3 separate regions of the Homo sapiens genome follow, and regions 1 and 2 are each linked to region 3. The links are contacts of gene promoters, found by promoter capture Hi-C in blood cells and fetal thymus (Javierre and others, 2016). All regions are on one chromosome and are shown on one strand. Each heading gives the region's core, a stretch centred on a gene start or on the middle of the fragment in contact. The rest is flanking DNA. Distances are from core to core; before and after follow the strand shown.

What was found. Contacts are between HindIII fragments. The CHiCAGO score rates a contact against its expected background, and 5 or more counts as called.
Region 1: a fragment that was not itself captured here is called in contact with the fragment with the promoter of HSPB2 in region 3 in 2 of 17 cell types (erythroblasts and neutrophils); the score reaches 5.5 in erythroblasts.
Region 2: a fragment that was not itself captured here is called in contact with the fragment with the promoter of HSPB2 in region 3 in 1 of 17 cell types (neutrophils); the score reaches 6.7 in neutrophils.

The regions. Positions count from the first base shown.
Region 1 is chr11:112,168,509-112,172,240 of GRCh38, reverse strand. TEX12 (testis expressed 12) reads right to left here. Exons shown (of 5, transcript NM_031275.4): 2 at 2,910-2,988; 3 at 1,711-1,822; 4 at 1,567-1,618; 5 at 1-469. The coding sequence starts at 2,972. The coding sequence ends at 325. Among named protein-coding and RNA genes, the nearest start is that of TEX12, 3.0 kb to the right of the region's middle. The HindIII fragment of the contact is 1,422 bases long and covers 1,577-2,998 here.
Region 2 is chr11:112,205,567-112,209,151 of GRCh38, reverse strand. All of the region lies in intron 8 of BCO2 (beta-carotene oxygenase 2), which reads right to left. It also overlaps the pseudogene MRPS36P4. Among named protein-coding and RNA genes, the nearest start is that of PTS, 19 kb to the left of the region's middle. The HindIII fragment of the contact is 1,552 bases long and covers 635-2,186 here.
Region 3 is chr11:111,911,484-111,915,237 of GRCh38, reverse strand. It overlaps HSPB2 (heat shock protein family B (small) member 2), which reads right to left and starts at 2,504. Exons shown (of 2, transcript NM_001541.4): 1 at 2,315-2,504; 2 at 1,145-1,797. The coding sequence starts at 2,408. The coding sequence ends at 1,343. CRYAB (crystallin alpha B) reads left to right here and starts at 3,468. Exons shown (of 3, transcript NM_001289808.2): 1 at 3,468-3,714. The coding sequence starts at 3,514. It overlaps HSPB2-C11orf52 (HSPB2-C11orf52 readthrough (NMD candidate)), which reads right to left and starts at 2,502. Exons shown (of 5, transcript NR_037651.1): 1 at 2,315-2,502. RefSeq lists an enhancer at 1,100-1,753. The HindIII fragment of the contact is 6,880 bases long and covers 1-3,425 here.

The DNA of each region.
Region 1 (3,732 bases), core at 1,038-3,537, 260 kb before region 3:
CTAAGAAGTTTAAGGAAAAAATAAAAGAATCCACATAAGATTTAAATAATTTACACTTCTATAAAATGCACTAAATATTTGACCCTCAAAAGAAAAGTGACGTAGTTCATGTTAATGGCCAGCTTAGGACATTAACATGAACATTAATATTAACATTAAGGAATTTAAAAGTTCCTTTTTAAACCTAGAAATTCAAGGAGTTTCCCCTTCTCTATTCGAGATATACATTTTCTTTAACAACTCGAGAGCTTTCAAAGCATAAATGTCATTCTTTCATTATAACAATAATAGGTTTAAATTCTCAGCTTATTTCAAGTATATATTTTATCTGTGTAATGTGTTTGCAATCACTGTAAACCTCTGTCGCAGGAACTCTCTTTTTTGTATTAGAAAGTTTTCAATAGCATTGGCTTCTTTGAAGAGTTCATCTATCTCATCAATGTAAGATGCATCTACTGCTGCTCTCTCACTAATAGGAAAAAAAGTTGTATATTAAACTAAGTAGATATAAACAACATCATTATGTTGTTCTTCATTACACAATATTTGTTAACTATTTCATTTAAATGGCTTTATGTGCCACAGAACTTCATTAATTTACTAATACTCTTCAGAAAAAAAAATTAGTCCCACAAATATTTTTGACTACTCAAAAAGGTCTCCTGACACAACAGGAAGTGTATCTTATACATTATAACACTAATATTCAATTACATACATTATTTTTACAGCCACACAAACCACTATCCAAGTATAATGACTGTCCGGCAGTGTAAAAAAAACACTTCATAAAACATATTAGGCTAATAAAGTATTTAAATTTGGTCTTAAAATAGATATAGGTAAAATATAAATACAGTCATCCCTCAGTATCCATGGGGTATTGGTTCCAGAATCCCCCACAGATACCAAAGGAACATCCCTCATAGATATTCAAGTCCCTTATATAAAATGCCATAGTATTTGCATATAACCTAAGAACATTCTGCCATATAATTTAAATTATCTCTTGATTACTTATAAGACCAATACCATGTAAATGCTATGTAAACAGTTGTTATACTGTATTGTTTGAAAAATAATGACAAGAAAAAAATGTCTGTACATGTTCAGTACAGACACAACCACCCTTTTTTTCCAAATATTTTCAATGTGTGGTTGATTGAATCCACAGATTCAGAATTCATGGATATGAAAGGCTGACTCTCTATGACATAAATATTTATCTTTAATATCAGTCTGTTATCATTAATTTCATCAAACATTTTTCTCAAAGAGGTATTTACATAAAATTTAAAATGTAATGTCATCTAATTACAGACCAAGATATATACAGTCTAGTATTAGCTTGGCAAGAGTAAAAAAGAAAGGATTTTTAGTGGAAAAGTTGACGCTATTCCCTGAAAATAACCAACTAATCTATTATAAGGGACTGAGGTAGAATAAAAAATTCCAAAGTTTTAATTACTGGAGAGGTTTGGCAGCCACAGAATTAAACTTCCCAATACAGAGTTTCCAGAAGAAAACTAACATAAAGACCCCAGAGAATATACTATAAGTACTTGCCTTAAAAGCTTTGCATAGGTAGACAACATTAGATTAATTTCCTTGCTCACATCTGTTCAAGAAAAATCATTTAAGTTATAAAATATAACAAACCTTCTGCATTATAAGACTGATGTTTAGAAATATAAACATTTTATACATCACCATTTAAATCTTTCTCCAAGGCTTCATCTTTATAAAATAGTCCGGAAATTTCAGAGAAAGATGAATCTGATTTTCCAAGAGAGGACAGCTGTGGACTATCTGGCACTGGAGACTAACAGGACAAAATAAAGAAAACAGGTACAGTCAATAAGATCTTCAGGACATATACATTTTGTTTATTAAGAAAAAGCAAATAAAACATTTTTCAGAAAAAGGCAAACATGCTAGAAAGCATATGACTTAGTCATTTGAGTTTTTATTATTAAGGAAATTTACAGGCCCAAGAAACACCTTGCTCAATATATTAAATTTTATTTTGGTTTTCAACTAGACTTTGCTTTTCATTTGTTTGTTTTTGTGACAAGTTCTCGCTCTGTCACCTAGGCCAAAGTGTAGTGACACAATCTTAGCTCACTGTAGCCTCCTAGATTCAAGTGATCCTCCTGTCTCAGACTCCTGAGTAGCTAGGACTACAGGAACATTCCACCATGCCCAGCTAATTTTGTTTTGTTTTGTTTTGTTTTCAGAGACAATGTATTGCAGTGTTGCCCAGGCTGATCTGAAACTCTTAGCCTCAAACGATACTCCTGCCTCAGCCTCCCAAAGCACTAGGATTACAGACATGAGCCAATGCGCCCAGCCTTAAATTAGACTTTAAATGTGGTTTTAAACTCCTGTTGAAAAAGCGTCTGGTATCTTGAACCAGTAGATGTTTTCATAGCAATGAAGCTAAACTGTAATTTAGACAGTAGCCAAATGCTTGTGAAATTTTGCTAAATAATATAATCTTCAAGGGAGCAAATCATGTCCCAAATGCAAAAGATCAACTGGTGGGGGCAGTAGTAAAAGACAGGATACTGTGCTCTTTAAAAAGATCAGTAACTATAGTACCTAGTTATCTTACTTATCACAGCAAAATAATTACATAAAATCCTATGGATCATAAAGGCACAGACTCACTTCTGTCTCTAGATCTCAAGCTACCAAAAAGAAATCTCCCAATAGTTTCTTGGAGGCCTATACTTAGTGAAAAAGCAGCTGGAATCAACATAGTTCCTCCTATGTTGTAGGACAATCCTAGCTCTGGGCATACGAATACATTAAATCCCACTTATCTATAGAGCTTTCTTAAAGGGAAGAAATTTGAGTAGTATGTAAAACAGAATAAAAGATTAAGGCTCCATAGGCATACAGCTTACCTCCAATTCTCTTGGCCTCTTGCAATTTCTATTATCAGGCTTTACAAGGTGATTTGCCATCATATTCCGAAGGCACCAGCTACAAAGCTTAGAACAATGCCAGATTTAGGTACAAACTCCATGCTACAAGCTCTCTGGAATCCTTCCCTGTTTCCCACTCCTACTGCTGATGTTAATTTAGACTGTCATTATCTGTCACTTTCCTAAACTCAATTTCTCCCTCCTCTAAATCATTCTATCAACTGCTATTTGGGTAATCTTTCAAAACTTTGATTACTGCATTCCTTTAACTCAAAAACTTTCATTGTTCCAGAATAAGTTGAAATTCCATGATATGGCCTTCAAGGTCCTGTATTATCTGGTGCAAGCCTACTAGTCCCATCATTTTCAACTACTCCTCTCTATGTACTTAGCCAAATGAGTCTCTCTGGCAATTCTGCCTTGTTTCAGGACTGGCTCAGTTAAGATTCTTTTATCTTCGGCCGGGCGCGCTGGCTCACGGCTGTAATCCCAGCACTTTGGGAAGCTGAGGCAGGAAGATCACCTGAGGTCGGGAGTTCGAGACCAGCCTGGCCAGCATGGTGAAACCCTGTGTCTACTAAAAATCCAAACATTAGCCAGGCGTGGTGGCAGGCGCCTGTAATCCCAGCTACTTGGGAAGCTGAGGTGAGAGAATCGCTTGAACCCAGGAGAGGGAGGTTGCAGTGAGCCGAGATTGTGCCATTGCACTCCAGCCTGGGCAACAGAGCGAGACTCCACCTCAAAAAAAAAAAAAGGATTCTTCTATCTTCACAAAATCTTAATGTTTAAACAGGTCTTACAG
Region 2 (3,585 bases), core at 161-2,660, 300 kb before region 3:
AACTGTACAACACAGACCTAACCATCATGTAAAGTATGGACTTTAGTTAGTAATAATGTAACACTCCTACATTGATTCATCAGTTGTAACAAATGTACCATTAGCAGGAGAGGGAAATATGGAAACTCTCCATACTTTCTGCTTGATTTTTCTTTAAAAGTAAAATTGCTCTAAAAAACAGTCTATTTTTTTTTGGAAGTCCTTTATTGTAAAGGTAATTCTTTTGTCTGATGACAAACAGCAGCCACAGTGATTATTCTGGATCTCCACAATGGACAAATTCAATTTCTTCTTGAGACACAAGTTTACTTCTATATTTCTGAGGTAATGTTTTCATTACTTCTGCAGTGTCTGGTACATCCACAAATCCAGTAATTTACTTCCCTTAGAATGCTGGGAAATTGCAGAATCGTGAGATGGTTGCCCTGCTGATCTCAGAGCTTCTGGTACATTGGGTTTAGGATTGTCTCTTCCAGCAGGGAAGCTTATTAATGGAGCATGTGGCTTGACTACCTGAACGACACTGCTAGCAGATGCATCTTGCTGCCCATCATGACCCCCGAGAAGGGACAGTTTCTATTATATTTTTTTAATCTACAGCCACAGCATGCTTCATGGTAAAATGCTGCAAGCTTTGCCTCTCAGATTGGGAACAAGTTAAGGATGCCATTATCATCACTTATATTCAACACTGTACTGAAGATCCAGTGAAATAAGACAAAAAAAAAAAAGCCAATATACAGCTTACATGTAGAGTTAGAAAAGGAACTATCATTACTTGCATATGATATTATAGATGTAAAAATCTAAAAGAATCTATAATTATTAGAATTTGTAAGTGTAATTACTATATTAGTGAATATAAAATCAACAAACAAAAATCAATTGCCGGCCAGGTGCGGTGACTCATTCCTGTAATCCCAGCACTTTGGGAGGCCAAGGTGGGTGGATCACTTGAGGTCAGGAGTTCAAGACCAGCCTGGCCAACATGGTGAAACCCCATCTCTACCAAAAAAATATGAAAATTAGCCAGGAATGGTGGCACATGCCTGTAGTCCCAGCTACTCAGGAAGCTGAGGTGGGAGTATTGCTCGAACTCAGGAGGCAGAGGTTGCAGTGAGCTGAGATCACACCACTGCACTCCAGCCTTGGTGACAGAGTGAGACCGTCACACTGTCTCAAAAAAAAAAAATTGCTATATAGCAACACTAACATAAAATGAAAGCAAAAAATAAACAACATTTAAAATAATGTAAAAAAAAAACCTAGGAATAAATCTAACAAAAGATGCAGAAAATATGTAACCAGAAAACTATAAACATTGAAAGAAATTAAAGAAGTCTCAAATAAATGGAAAGATATATTGTGTTCACGTACTGGAAGACTCAACATTGTGTAAAGAGGTTAGTCCTCTCTCAAATTGATACATTGGTTCAGTGCAAATAGAATTAAAATGTGACCATATTTTTGTGTGGGGAACTGACAGCTGATTCTAAAATTTCTACAAAAACGTGAAGGGCCAGGGATGGCCATGACACTCTTTTCAAAAGAAAAATATTAGGATAACTTGACACTAAACCTTAAGACTTTTTTAATGCAGTGCACAAGTAACCATAAGTAGAAACAATGGAACAGAATATACAGTCCAGAAACAGAATAATGCATATACAGATACTTGACTTCTCTAGAAGATAACATAGGATAATATTTTCATTACCTTGCCATGAGAAGATGTCTAAAACAAGATGTACAACGTATAAGTCATAAAGGAAGAGACTGTATACTGGGCCATATTAAGTTAAGAATGTTTATTCATTAAAAGGCACTATTAGGATAATCTGATAAAGATAGCTAGAAAAATACCTATAGCAATTTTATATTTAATAATGAATTATTAAACATTTTTCAACACTACCTATTCAACTTCTATTCACTATCTTGCACTTCTATTCAACTCGAAGTCCTAGCTGGTACAGTAAGGCGAGAAAAAGAAATAAAGCCCTAAGTATTAGAAAGAAAGCTGTCATTATTTTCAGGTAACATGACTGTGCACATAGAAAATCCAAAATAATCTGTGGATCAACTATTTGAACTAATAAGTGAATTTAGCAAGATCTCTGGATATGAAGATAATATACAAAATCAATTGCATTTCTATAAAGAGCAACAAACAGAAAATGAAAGCTTAAAAGATACCATTTACAATAATTTCAAAACACACAAAAAGAAATGTAGTATCTTTATACTGAAAACTATAACTTTACTGAGAGAAATTTTAAAAGACCCAAATAAATGGAGGGATATTCCATGTTCATGGATTGGAAGACTCAATATTGTAAAGATGTCAATTGTCTCCAAATTGATCTACAGTTGCAATATTGTATCAGGTTTTTTCCTTGCAAAAACTGACAAGTTGACATCAAATTTAAAAGTTTCTGCACAGCAAAGGAAACAATCAACAAAACGAAAAGGCGACCTATGGGCTGGGGAAAAAAATTGCAACCACATATCCAATAAGGAATTATACTCAAAATTTGTATATTTTTAAATTTTTTTGTAGAGATGAGGTCTTGCCATCTTGCCCAGGCTGATCTTGAACTGCTGGGCTCAAGCAATCCTCCCACCTTGGCCTCCCAAAGTGCTGGGATTACAGGCGTGAGCCACCACACCTGGCCTCAAAATTTATAAAGAACTCTTACAACTCAATACCAGAAAAACAAATAACCCAATTAAAAAATGGGAAAAGCCGGCCGCCGCCCCGTCTGGGAAGTGAGGAGCGCCTCTGCCCGGCCGCCCACCGTCTGGGAACTGAGGAACACCTCTGCCCAGCTGCCGCCCCTGCCGCCCCAGGAGTGCCTCTGCCCAGCCGCCCACCCTCTGGCAAGTGAGGAGCGCCTCTGCCCGGCCGCTGCCCTGTCTGGGAAGTGAGGAGCGCCTCTGCCTGGCCCCCACATTGTCTGGGATGTGAGGAGCGCCTCTGCCCGGCCCCCGCCCTGTCTGGGAAGTGAGGAGGACCTCTGCCCAGCTGCCGCCCGTCTAGGATGTGAGGAGCGCCTCTGCCTGGCCGCTGCGCAACCTTCCAAGTGTGAAGTGACAGCCTTGTGTGTGATCTTTTCTGTCTTCCCCAAGTTTGCATTTTCAATATTAAAGTTTACTTTTTAATTAAAAGTTAAAAATAAATTAATTAATTAATTAATTAAAAATAAATAAAAAATGGGCAATGGACCTGAACAGTCATTTCTCCAAAAATAGAGGCCAGGTGTGGTAGCTCACACTTGTAATCCCAGCACTTTGGGAGGCTGAGGCAGGAGGATCACTTGAGCCCAGAAGTTTGAGAAAAGCCTTGGCAACATAACAAGGCCCCTGTCTCTACAAAAAAGTTTTAAAAATATTAGCTGAGTGTGGTGCCATGCACCTGTAATCCCAGCTACTTGTGAGGCTGAGGCAGGAGGATCATGCATGCCCAGGAGTTTGACAGCAGCCTTGGCAACATAATAAGACCCTGTCTCTACAAAAAAGTTTTTAAAATATTAGCTGAGTGTGGTGCCACGCACCTGTAGACCCAGCTACTTGGGAGGCTGAGGC
Region 3 (3,754 bases), core at 1,255-3,754:
GTCTTAAGAGTTGTGGGAACCTATTCAAATTGTATTGCCAAATTTGGGAGCATATGTATTTTTCTGGTAAGAGCAGCTATAGCTTTTGTCAGATTTTCAGAAGGGTCTATAACTCCCAAAAGTTAAGAAACAACCACTTAATTTAATTCAATTCAATTTAATTTTTTTGAGGCAGGGTCTCACTCTGTCACCCAGGCTGGAGTGCAGTGGCGCAATCTCAGCTCACTGCAGCTTCAACCTCCCTAGCTCATCCTCCCACCTCAGCCTCCCAAGTAGCTGGGACTACAGGCATGCACCACCATGCCTGGCTAATTTTTATTTTTTTGTAGAGACAAGGTTGCACTCTATTGCCCAGGCTGGTCTCTTACTCTTGGGCTCAAGTGATCCTCCTGCCTCGGCCTCCCAAAGTACTGGGATTACAGGTGTGAGCTGCTGCACCCAGCCAAGAAACAACTGCTTTAATGGAAGAATTGTAGGTATCTACCACAGCCTAATGAAATATGTATTTGGAGGCAGGAAGGTCTTTTGGACACTTCCCCCAAATCATGTAGCTGGATGTTCTCTTGATTGCAGAGAATAACTGAGGGGACAGACCTCAGGCTTTCCTGAATACACCGTACCCCCAGAGGATGGGAAGGTAATGGGGTTCCGTGATAATTGGAGAGGCTTTGTGTCTGTGCCCTGTGTATGCATACTCAGGCTCTCAAAATCAGTGACCATTTAAGTGGACAGACCTTAGTACATGAAAACAAAGTATTCACTCCAGGACTTTAGGCAACTCTCACCAGCCAAAAACCATTTTCCCAGCCCCTACCCAAAAAGGGCCAGACAGTCTGGAGACCCTTGTTTTTGTGTCTCTAATCACCAGCTCAGACAGTGCCCTCTGGGCTGTTTGGATGGCATATCCCTTTTCCCTCCCAGGATCACTCTCTCTTTTGTTGCATTGTGAGAAAATTATGGCTAGGAATTTGATCTGGAGCCAGAGTCAGCTTCCGGGTGTGATCTCAGCATCCAAGTGCGAGCTCAGGGTCCTATGACGTTGGGCACATCAAACTGAGGAGCTTTTTGTCTAGCTGGCTGTGACCTCCTCCCTCCCTCCCCATCCCAGCTTCCCGGCCACAGAATAGGGAGCAGTACAAACAAGGCCCTGAGATTTGGGTTTATTCAGCTCCACCCAAAACTAAACCAAGGCTATGACATGTCCCATGGGACCAAACCATACATTGTGGACCATGCACCTTTCCCTTCCCCCAAGGATGCTGCTACCTCTGGAGTGGTGGGCAGCTGCCCATATCACCTTGGGAGGTAGAGAGGGATTTGCTGGGTGCTGGGTCTGTGGCAATCAGGGCTCAACTATGGCTGCCTCCTCCTCTTCCTCTGGATCAGGAGGCGCAGGGAGCAGGGAGATGTAGACCTCATTGACCTCTGTGTCCAAATGTCGGCCACCCCGAGGTGCTTCCAGGTTTAAGATGCCATCATGGGAGAGAGCAGCTCGGACTCGCCAGGGGTCGACATCAGCAGGCAGGACATAGGTGCGGCAGAACTCTCGGGACACGAAGCCGTGGCGGTCCAGGCGCTGGGGGTGCCGGGCAGACACCTCCAGCAGGTTATCCACAGTCCTCACAGTCACCTCGTCTGGGGTAAAGTGGCTCACATCCAGAAATGCCTGGAACTTGCCCTCACTGAGCCTAAGCTCGGAGGCCCCTGCCCTGCTGCCCTCCCCAGCTGGGGCGGCCCGAGGCCGGACATAGTAGCCATGGTAGAGTGTGGGGGTCAGGATCTCTTCTGGCAGGAGGCCTAAAGGGCAGAGAGAAGGCAAGAGGCAGGATGAGGGAGGATGAGGCTGGCACAGGGGCGAAATGGGAAATCTGGAGAGGAGGGATTGGGAAGAGCAAGAGGGGAGTCAGGAGGAGTAGGGAACGGGAGGGAGGCCACACTGTAGCTAGGAGGAGAAGGCAGCTCGGAAGAGGGGAAAGAGAACGGAAAGGAAAGGGAGGAGGAGGAGGAGAAGGAGGAGGAGGGGGAGGAGGAGGAGGCACCAAACGGCCTGGGTGGATAGAAGGGGGACAAGGAGGCACACCCAGGCCGGCAAAGAGCAGGTATCAGCACTGCAAGCACCAAGTGTGTCTTGAGGTCAGCAGGAATGGGAAAGATCTCTGCTTGGAGGGGATGAGGGGTAGTCTGGGGTGGGGGGTGGCTGGTCCCAGGAGATCAGTTAAGCCCAGAGTGGGGTGGAGGCCAGCAACGTTGGGAGGTCAGCCCAGAATTTCAGGGGGTGGGGGTGGGGGGCAAGGGGGTGGTGTCTGTGCCATACCTTCTCCGAAGCGCTGCTCACCCAGGCGGCTCGGGTTGGCAAATTCGTACTCGGCGGTGGCCGGGTGGGCATGTGGCACTGAGCGGCCCGACATGGCTGCAGATGCAGCAGAAGCCCTGGTCCGAGGTGCAGCCCCAACAGGCGCAGCGCGACCCCTCCAGCTGCCCGGAGAGCCAGGGCTCGATAGGAGGTGGGGGCGGGGTCGACACCACCCAAAATAGTGCCGAGCCTCTTGGGGGGGGAGGGGCTGGGAGTGGGGGCCCTGAGTGAGAGCAACGAGGGTGTGACCAGCGCCGCCCGGACCCCTAGTCCCCTCCCCCGCACACTCTTCAGCTGTCGCAGGGGGCCTGAGAGGACAGCTGAGGGTCCTGGCTGGGAACGAGCTGGGGAGGGGGAGCTGGTGGTGCCTGGGGCATGAAGAGGCCTCGCTGAGACCCTCACAAACGGTTTGCACGTTTCCACACCTCATTTTCTCCTCTTCGGTGGCAGGCACTGTGCACCCAATTCCTAAAGCACTCCTGGATTTAATGTTCTGAGAGCCACATAGAACGAAAGATGCAAGAAATCTGTTTGCTCTTTTTTCAGGGGGTGGGGTCTTTCTGCCCAGATGTGGGATCCTCTCCTAAACCCAGGTCAACCCAGGGCACGAGGCAGATGGCTGGTGCTGACATGTTGACCATCACTGCTCTCTTCCAAGGACTCACAAAGAGTTAATGTCCCTGGGGCTCAGCCTAGGAAGATTCCAGTCCCTGCCCAGGCCCAAGATAGTTGCTGGCCTGATTCCCCTGGCATTCAGGACTGGAAAGGAGGAGGAGGGGCACACTACGCCGGCTCCCATCCTCCCCCCACCCCGCGTGCCTGCTTGGGATTCCTGACTCTGTACCAGCTTCAGAGAACAGGGGTGGGGGTGGGTGCCATTGGGTGTGGACAGAAAGCTAGTGAAACAAGACCATGACAAGTCACTGGCCGGCTCAGACGTGTTTGTGTCTCTCTTTTCTTAGCTCAGTGAGTACTGGGTATGTGTCACATTGCCAAATCCCGGATCACAAGTCTCCATGAACTGCTGGTGAGCTAGGATAATAAAACCCCTGACATCACCATTCCAGAAGCTTCACAAGACTGCATATATAAGGGGCTGGCTGTAGCTGCAGCTGAAGGAGCTGACCAGCCAGCTGACCCCTCACACTCACCTAGCCACCATGGACATCGCCATCCACCACCCCTGGATCCGCCGCCCCTTCTTTCCTTTCCACTCCCCCAGCCGCCTCTTTGACCAGTTCTTCGGAGAGCACCTGTTGGAGTCTGATCTTTTCCCGACGTCTACTTCCCTGAGTCCCTTCTACCTTCGGCCACCCTCCTTCCTGCGGGCACCCAGCTGGTTTGACACTGGACTCTCAGAGGTGAGTCTCCCCACAGCTAGGACGGGAGAGTCCTTACTGG